3 separate regions of the Homo sapiens genome follow, and all the other regions are linked to region 2. Evidence: promoter capture Hi-C in human tissues and cell types (Jung and others, 2019). All regions are on one chromosome and are shown on one strand. Each heading gives the region's core, a stretch centred on a gene start or on the middle of the fragment in contact. The rest is flanking DNA. Distances are from core to core; before and after follow the strand shown.

Region 1 (3,085 bases), core at 108-2,607, 480 kb before region 2:
ACCCTTGAAATCAGCTGGGCACAGTGGTTTATGCCTGTAATCCCAGCACTTTGGGAGGCCAAGACGGGATGATCCCTTGAGGTCAGGAGTTTTCGAGCAGCCTGGGCAACATAGTGAGACCCCATCTCTACAAAAAAAATTTTTTTAATGAAGACAATAAAAAAAAACTATCTTCTAGATTGTTCAGAGGATTAAATGGGCTGGCCAGGGGTGGGGGCTCACACCTGTCCTCCCAACACTTTGGGAAGCAGAGGTGGGAGGATCACTTGAGCCCAGGTGTTGGAGACCAGCCTGGACAACTTGGTGAAACTCCGTCCCTACAAAAAATACAAAAAATTAGGCCGGGCGCGGTGGCTTATGCCCGTAATTCCAGCACTTTGGGAGGCCTAGGCGGGCGGATCACCTGAGGTCAGGAGTTCGCAACCAGCCTGGCCAACATAGTGAAACCTCGTCTCTACTAAAAATACAAAAAATTAGGCAGGCGTGGTGGCGCACGCCTGTAGTCCTAGCTACATGAGAGGCTGAGGTGAGAGGATCATCTGAGCCCGGGGTCGAGGCTGCAGTGAACCGTGATCACGCCACTGCACTCCAGCCTGGGTGACAAAGTGAGACTCTGTCTAAAAAAATAAAATAAATGAGGTAATGTATACGAATATGATGCACGGAGCGGACCTTCAACAATTATTTTTATTGCTATGATCTGCATAATTGGCACAACAGGGCCCTGCCACATCGAACTGTTTAAGCTCAGAACCGTGTCTGTCACATGTGGAGCGATCCATGATTGATGCTATCATTATCACCACCATCATCCCACCAACCCGCCCATCGGAAACAAGCTTTCATCGAATCCCATCGTTTTTTCCTTTTTTGTAAATCTCTTTCCTCGGCCTGGCTCTGCCGCCCAAGTATGCTCGTCAGGCCTTTGCCCACCTGGACCGGGCGCGGGCAGCCCGGGGCTGAGGATTCTCGAGCCTTGGTGGACCACAGGCTCCCGTCGCCCCGCCCAAGGGCCTGGACCGCCTGTGGTCTCCATGGAAACCCGCCAGCCACAGGGGGCGTGACGCCGTTGAGACAGACAGAGATATTCACCTATCAGATCAAAGTTATCTGGGCAGGGCGAACAAACGGGACCTCCGAGTGGTACGTCCTTAAGGCGGGGCGGGAATACGGCAACGGGCCGCGGGGGCTGTTACTGTCGCTACCAATCAAGAGTCGAGATGGCTTTGATGGACAGGCATAGCGCGAGTGCGGGCTTTCGCCCAACCGGCGGGCCGCTGTCCCGAAAAAGGACCAATGAGGAGGCGGCAGGGGTGGGGCGAAGGGGCCGGTTGCTCCGGAAGTGGAGGGAGGGGGTGAAAATGGCGCCCAGCTCGAAATCGGAGCGGAACAGCGGGGCTGGGAGCGGCGGCGGCGGCCCCGGGGGAGCCGGAGGGAAGCGGGCAGCAGGGCGGCGGCGGGAGCACGTCCTCAAGCAGCTGGAGCGGGTCAAGGTGAGGCCTGGAGCCGGAGTGGGGAGCGCGCCGGAGGGTGGGGAGTAGGGACGAGGGAGGCGGAGGGAGGAGGGCGTTCGCGGGGTGAGGGGTTGGGGGCGGGGCCCCAGGGGAGGGGGCTCGGATGCAGGGCCTGGGCGGGGCCCGGGGGAGATGGCTTGGATGGAGGGGGCTCAGTTGGGGGCCTGGATGCAGGTGGTTGTGTCGGGTGACCGGCAAAGGGGCTGGGATGGAGGGGGTTGGGGGCGGGGCCCCAGGGAGGGGGCTCGGAGGGAGGCGACCCCAGAGGCCGCAGGGAGAATCAGGAGGAAGGGGGCGATCCAGGCTTTTCAAAGCTCTGCTCCCATGGTTGCTCCATAATGGAACCTTCCCGCCCCCTTTGCAGAGCCCCTGCCGCTGGCTTTGGGCTTCCTCCGCCTGATGTTCCTCTCCCTGCCCAAGCCCCGACCACACATGAGCTGGGAGTTCCAGTACCTGGGTGGGCCTCCCCATTGAAAGTGTGGGAGCTCCCTGGATAGGGCTGAGTCTTCCCCCGCAGAGTGAGAGTTACCGAAGCAGGCTCTGTCTCCTCCATCAGACTGGAAACTCCCAGAGCTGGGGGATGATGTCTCTCTCCCCCATCAGTTTGGGAGCTCTGGAGGGCAGAAATGTGGATCTCTTGCAGGTGGGCAGTAACTGGGGCAAGGCTGTGTCTCTGTGGACAGGGACTGCGCCTTCTCCGTGAGGCTGGTAGCTTTGTAAGGGCAGTGCTGTGTCTCCCCCTTTTGACTGGGAGCTCCCTGGGCTGGGACAGTCTCCGCCCTTAGCCTGGGAGCTCCCTGGGCTTGGCTGTGGTTCCGCCCTTAGCTTGGAAGCTCCTTGGGCAGGGACTGTGTCTCCCCTGTCGGCCTGGGCCTGGCTGGCCAGGCTGTTTCCTCCGTCAGACTGAGACCTCCATGTGGACAGGGCTGTCTCCCATCAGACAGGGAGCTTCCCAGACAGGACTCTTCCCATCAGATTGGAATGTCTTGAAGGCAGAGTTGGGTAGCAAGACTGAGGCTGTTCGGATATCCCTGTGCCTGGCTTCTGCCTGTCAGTCCCCGCAGATCCTTCCGCGGTGAAGTTTTGGGGATGAGGGATTCCCTTGGATTCCGTTGGAAGGCGGTAGTTAATTGGGAAGGGGGCGTTGGGTCATTGGTTAGGCTCACCCTTCTATCTGCCTCGACTGGCCCCCAGCAGAGGCCAGAGCTGCCCCGGGGAGGAGGAGCCCCCTTGTTTGAAGGCTGGTGGGTTGGGAACAGATGGGTGCAGGTCAGGACTCTGTCCCAGCCTCCTTAGTAGGATAAATACCCACAGCTTAGGGACAGCCTTCAGGGAGGGAAGCAGGTGGCCCAGCGTGGGACAGGGTGATTGGGGAACTTTCTTGGGGGCGGTGACGCTGGGCTCAGTCAAGAGGGACCTGAGGCTGAAGAGGTATGGAACTGGGAAGGTGGCCTGGGTCCCTGGTGGAGATGAAGGCTCAAGCGCGGTCCATCTGGCTTTACTGTCCCCATCTGCCTCAGTTGTTCCCACCTTCCAGAGCTTGGCCTTCTTTTGACCATTATGGTGGGCTG
Region 2 (2,943 bases), core at 179-2,678:
ATAATTCTCCTCCTTCTCTCTTTCTGTTGTTAGTATCTCCCAAAGAGTTGCTCAGAGGAAAAAATAAGAGAGAAAACATCGCGCCCTGGTTTCTGGGACGACTGAAACCACGCAGAGCCACGGGTAACCAAGGTACCCGCAGCCCACGGCGCTTCCTCGGGTCCCAAAGGGCGCCAATGTGCAGGCACCGCCGCCAGGGAGCGCTCCCTGCCGGAGCCCCGGAGACCAAGGTTTGGCTCCCTCGCCTGGTTTCCGAAGGAGTGAGGGTCCGACGGCGGCCACGAACAAAGCTGCACGCTCTGCAGACCCCGGAGATCCCCTAGAAATTCCGCAGAGGCCTCCACTCTCCGCTTGGGCACGAGTCTGCATTTATGGAGCGCCATCTGCATGCAGCAGCCCCGAAAAAGAAGGCGATGCCCATTTTATAGCGGGGAAAACTGAGACTCAGAGGCCACAGGGGTCCCCAGGATGAACAGCAAGTTGGGATTCAAACCTCTTTTAATAACAATAACGATAATAGAGGCTGGGCGCGGTGGCTCAGGCCTGTGTAATCTCAGCACTTTAGGAGACCGAGGCGGGCGGATCACCTGAGATCAGGAGTTCGAGGCCAGCCTGGCCAATATGATGAAACCCCGTCTCTACTAAAAATACAAAAATTAGCCGGGTATGGTGGTGGGCACCTGTAATCCCAGCTACTCAGGAGGCTGAGGCAGAAGAATCACTTGAATCCGGGAGGCGGAGGTTGCAGTGAGCCGAGATCGCGCCACTGCACTCCAGCATGGGCAACAGAGCGAAACTCCGTCCAAAAATAGCAAAACAACAAACAAACAATTACGATAACATTAAAAGTGACAGCAGCTAACACTTATGGAGCGTCTAGTGTGTTCTCAGCTCTTGGCCTGCACTGTCTTATTGAATTTTACCAACACCGAGGAGGTGAGCGCATCATTCCCATTTCACAGATGAGGTGCCTGGAAGGGTTTGTCTCCCTCAAGGCGTAAAGCGCTAGGATTTGAATGCAGATCCGCCCAGAGCTTGTCTCCAGGTAACGGGGAAACTTCCATGCCCTTGAATAGGGGACCACAGATGCAGGCGTCCCGAGCTTGCAAATGCACCGGGGTAGGGTGGGGTGGGGGGTTATTCTGTTTGTTTTTTTCAGGGGTCCCGGGAGGCCCAAAGGCCTCCGCCGCTCTCGGCTTGAACGCGTGGAACCGTTCTCCTCGGGTTCCCGCGCGCTCCAATGGGGGACCCCTCGGCAGCGTGCGGTCGTCTCGGGACCCGGAAAGAGGAAAGGTGGGGAGCCGATGGGGATGCTCCGGGCTCGGGAGACCGAGGGGGCGGACGGGCGGGACCCCGCAGCCCCGGGGGCCTCTGGGAACCCGTCCCCCCTCGGCCCCGCCCCCTCCCCGGGCGCCGACCTCCGGGGTCACGTGACCAGGCCCGGCGGCCGCTGGGGCCGGAGGGCGCGGCGCGGGGACGCGGCGGCCTGGCCAGGCGAGGCGGGAGCCGAGCAGGCCGGAGCGGGCCGCGCGCCGGGGAGGGTCGCGCCGCGCCCGCCCCCTCCCCGCCACGCCCGGGGCGCACGCGCGCTCCTCTGGCCGCCCCTCCCTCCGCGCGGGGACCCCTGGCGGGCGGCAGGAGGACATGGCCAGCGACGCCGTGCAGGTAGGCGCACCTGCGTCTGGAGTCCCGGGGCGACCGGACGGCGCCGGCGGACCCCGCCCGCGCGCTGCCGGGGGAGCCCCCCCAGCCCCCGGAACGGGACTCGGGTGACGATGGCAAGGGCGGGGGCCTCCGGAGCGCCCGGCGCCCCCTCCCTGGGCCGGGACTGTGGAGCCAGCGAGGCCCCCTTCTCGGCAGGTGGCGATGTGGACTGGGCTGGTTTGGGGGCGATCCCGGAGGCAACCCCTGCTACACCCTCAAACTCGGCCTCTCCTGGAGAACTAGAAGGGGCGCGGCGGAGGCTCTACTTCGGGTGTCTGTGGCTGGCTGGGCGTCCCAGTGCCTCTCGTCCGCCCCCAAACTCATCCCCCTCCCCAGGGTTGGGTACCCGGCAGGTGCCGCTCCACCTGGGGCACGTGCCTGGCGCAGTGCCCTGGGAGGGGAGGAGGCTGCTGGGCCCGGCCCGTGCCCTTCCCCCGCATAACAAAGCTCCAGCCACCCCCGCCTCTAGACAGCTTTATGATGTTCCAGACGCCACCCAGATTGGCACCTGTTGGCGGAAGTACCCGAGTCACTGCATTAGGTCGGGGGAATGGGGACCCCCACTCCCACCCTTGGGCTGTCAGGTGGAACCTTCTCCTGGGTGGGGAGTGTCTCAGTCAACAGGCCAGGGATGCTCCCATATATAGAATCCTACTTTTTTGCATGGTGGCTGGGCATGGCTGGGTCACCCCCACCCTGCTAACACACACACGTGACTGGCACCAGCCTCCCGCCCAGCCAGATTCCCCTTGTGCCACCTGGTGGGGATCACTGACCTGGACTCATCTTCCCCGTCTGTGACAAGCACGGCCAGGGTGACTGCCAACCTTCTTTGGTTCAAGTGACCCAAATCTGAGAAATGTCTGTGCCTCAGTGTCCCCATTAGCACCTCACCATCCAGTTCATTGTCCTGTGGTTGTTGTGTAACTGGGTTCTCGTCTCCTTCTGCACCTGCCCCCGGCCCCTTTGTGTCTCCCCGGTAACCCCCGGTCCCTCCCGCCTTCCCAGTCCTGCTGATGGCCTGCCGGCCTTGCCGAGGAGCTGGGCGTATCTGGTGTTGCCGATCACACAAGGTCAGACCTCAAGGCCGGGATGGGCCGGGGTCCCTGCCTCTACCCCCGGCCCAGGGAGGGCTGTGTAGGAATCCCCGGGTGCATGCATGCGCTTGGCGCATCCCACACATGACCCAGACAGGCTGTGATTCCTGCAACGAGGCTGGACCCACGCCCTGGTCCCCCC
Region 3 (3,239 bases), core at 573-3,072, 300 kb before region 2:
CCTTGGCCTCCCAAAGTGCTGGAATTTGTCTGAGCCATCATGTCCAGCCTGTTGATTTATTTTTGTTACAAGTAGTGACACAACTGGAATCAAGTTTTGGGGGAAGACAGAAAAGCCAGCCAGCCCTGCTCTCTCCTTTCTAAAGCAGTTGTATCATTTTGGTGTATATCCTTGAGCCCTTTCCTCTCATAGCCGGTAGAATCCTGTACGGGTGCATTTAATTCATGTCCTGGGAAGGTAGACAAAAAAGACTAAAGTGTACCCACGAGCACCTGATGTTGTCCAGCTGAGGTCAATACTAATCGGCAAAACCTAAACAAAGAGCATGTGGAAACTCACCGAAATAAATGGGCCCCTGCAACATAGGCAGACTCGACTCTATTAAAAATCAACAAAATTAATTGGGTGTGGTGGCGCGTGCCGGTGGTCCCAGCTATGCGGGAGGCTAAGGTTGGAGGATCGCTTGAGCCTAGGAGTTCAGGGCTGCAGTGAGCCATGATCGAGCCACTGCATTCCAGCCTGGACGACAGAGACCCTATCTCAAAGGAAAAAAAAGAAAAAGAAAAAATGTACTGTGTTGACTGTCAGGCACAGGGGCTGAAATGGCTCTTTCAACCAGGGCTGGAAAGAAACTGGAGAATTAACTAACGGCTGTAGAGAAATACTGACTCAAGAGTTACAGAAGCTGGTTGGGCACGGCAGCTCACACCTGTAATCCTAGCACTTTGGGAGGCCGAGGCAGGCAGATTGCCTGAGCTCACGAGTTCGAGACCAACCTGGGCAACATGGTGAAACCCCATCTCTACTAAAAATATAAAAATTTAGCTGGGCATGATGGTGTGCACCTGTAATTCCAGCTACTCAGGAGTCTGAGGCATAAGAACTGCTTGAACCTGGGAGGCAGCAGAGATTGCAGTGAGCCGAGATTTTGCCACTGCACTCCAGCCTGGGCAACAGAGCCAGCCTCCGTCAAAAAAAAAAAAAAAAAAAAAAAAAAAAAAAAGAAGAAAGAAGGAAAGAAAGGAAGAAAAAAAGAGTTATAGGTATAGGGCCAGGTGAGGTGGATCATTGGATCATGGCTGTAATCCTAGCACTTTGGGAGGCTGAGGCGGGTGGATTGCTTGAGCTCAGAAGTTCGAGATCAGCCTGGGCAACATGGTGATACAAAAAATACAAAAAATTAGCCAGGCGTGGTGGCATGCCCCTGTAGTCTCAGCTACTCGGGAGGCTGAGGTTGCAGTGAACTGAGATCGTGCCTCTGCACTCCAGCCTGGGTGACAGAGTGAGACTCCATCTCTACTAAAAATATAAAAAATTAGCTGGGCGTGGTGGTGTGCACCTGTAATTCTAATTTATTTTATTTTATTTTGACATGGAGTCTCACTCTGTTGCCCAGACTAGAGTGCAGTGGCACGATCTCGGCTCACTGCAAGCTCCGCCTCCCGGGTTCATGCCATTCTTGTGCCTCAGCCTCCTAATCAGCTGGGACTACAGGCACCCCCCACCACGCCCGGCTAATTTTTTTTTCTATTTTTAGTAGAGACGGGGTTTCACTGTGTTAGCCAAGATGGTCTCGATCTCCTGACCTTGTGATCCGCCTGCCTTGGCCTCCCAAAGTGCTGGGATTACAGGCATGAGCCACTATGCCCAGTCGAGAATCATCTTAAATTTGCTGAAGTGCCCAGGCATGGTGATGTGCACCTGTGGTTCCAGCTACTTAGGAAGCTGAGGTGGGAGGACTGCTTAAGCCCAGGAGTTCAAGTCCAGTCTGGGCAACATAGTGACACCCTATCTCTTTAAAAAAAAAAAAAAAAATCTGGCTGCAGTGTTATAAGTAGAGACATACGTGTATGATTTCATCTCTAAATATAATCTTTCTTTAGAATTATACATGGGACACAAATCACCAATACAGCAGGAACTCATAGCTATGAGTACAGGACACAGCTGTACACATGACGTGTGTACCTAACCTTCTGAGCAATGTCAAGGCAACTCAACTGTGTCCCATGTTATCTCTCTGCGCTAACTTCACAAGCTAGTCCCTGTGCAAGACATACCTCCACTGTGTGTTTGTGTGTATATATATATATATATATATATAAATGATAAGACTAAAGACATGTACACAATTAGTATAGCTGAACTAGCTAAAAAGTCTGCTTCCTGCTTTTTTGTTGTTGTTTTTTTGAGACAGTCTTGCTCTGTCGCCCAGGCTGGAGTGCAATGGCGCAATCTGGGCTCACTGCAATTTCCATCTCCCGGGTTCAAGCGCTTCTCCTGCCTCAGCCTCCCAAATAGCTGGGACTACAGGCACCTGCCACCAAGCCTGGCTAACTTTTGTATTTTTAGTAGAGACAGGGTTTCACCACATTGGCCAGGCTGGTCTCAAACTCCTGACCTCAGATGATCCACCTGCCTTGGTCTCCCAAAATGCTGGGATTACAGGGGTAAGCCACTGTGCCTGGCCATTTTTTTTTTCTTTTTTTTTTTTTGAAACAGAGTCTCGCTCTGTCACCCAGGTTGGAGTGCAGTGGCACAATCTCAGCTCACTGCAACCTCTGCCTCCCGGGTTCTAGCGATTCTTCTGCCTCAGCCTCCTGAGTAGCTGGGATTATAGCTGCGTGCCACCATGCCTGGCTAATTTTTGTATTTAGTAGAGCCGGGGTTTCACCACGTCGGTTAGGCTGGTCTCGAACTCCTGACCTTGTGATCCATCCGCCTCGGCCTCCCAAAGTGCTGGGATTACAGGTGTGAGCCACCACACCTGGCTTTTTCTTTTTTTTTTTTTTTGAGATGGAGTCTTGCTTTGTTGCCCAGGTTGGGGTGCAGTGGTGCAATCTCGGCTCGCTGCAAGCTCTGCCTCCTGGGTTCACGCCATTCTCCTGCCTCAGCCTCCCGAGTAGCTGGGACTACAGGCGCCCGCCACCACACCCGGCTAATTTTTTGTATTTTTAGTAGAGACGGGGTTTCACCATGTTGGCCAGGCTGGTCTCGAACTTCTGACCTCAGGTAATCTGCCCGCCTTGGTCTCCCAAAGTGCTGGGATTACAGGCGTGAGCCACCATGCCAGGCCTCCTTTGTTTGTTTGCTTTTTGCCTTTGTTCATAATCAAAGATGAGCTCTGCTGCCATAACAACTTCGTTATTTCTGGGTCAGAACATCTGGCTTCTATGACTTATTCAACCAGTGTCTGTTGAATTTCTCAGCTAAATGTGGAAGAATCTATTTCCAGATGT

What was found. Contacts are between HindIII fragments. The study calls those that stand out against the background at their distance.
Region 1: a contact is called between the fragment with the promoter of DCAF15 here and the fragment with the promoter of PKN1 in region 2, in 2 of the 25 tissues and cell types used here (lymphoblastoid cells and spleen).
Region 3: a fragment that was not itself captured here is called in contact with the fragment with the promoter of PKN1 in region 2 in 2 of the 25 tissues and cell types used here (dorsolateral prefrontal cortex and lymphoblastoid cells).

What each region holds. Positions count from the first base shown.
Region 1 is chr19:13,951,152-13,954,236 of GRCh38, forward strand. It overlaps DCAF15 (DDB1 and CUL4 associated factor 15), which reads left to right and starts at 1,358. Exons shown (of 13, transcript NM_138353.4): 1 at 1,358-1,493. The coding sequence starts at 1,362. It also overlaps a transcript of PODNL1 not described here. RefSeq lists an enhancer at 731-780 and a silencer at 1,441-1,580. The HindIII fragment of the contact is 40,615 bases long and covers 1-3,085 here.
Region 2 is chr19:14,431,878-14,434,820 of GRCh38, forward strand. PKN1 (protein kinase N1) reads left to right here and starts at 1,429. Exons shown (of 22, transcript NM_002741.5): 1 at 1,429-1,665. The coding sequence starts at 1,645. RefSeq lists enhancers at 169-448, 1,323-1,896, 1,897-2,469 and silencers at 1,179-1,518, 1,689-1,758, 2,049-2,158. The HindIII fragment of the contact is 61,187 bases long and covers 1-2,943 here.
Region 3 is chr19:14,128,708-14,131,946 of GRCh38, forward strand. The region is part of intron 1 of ASF1B (anti-silencing function 1B histone chaperone); the gene reads right to left. Among named protein-coding and RNA genes, the nearest start is that of ASF1B, 6.3 kb to the right of the region's middle. The HindIII fragment of the contact is 8,412 bases long and covers 1-3,239 here.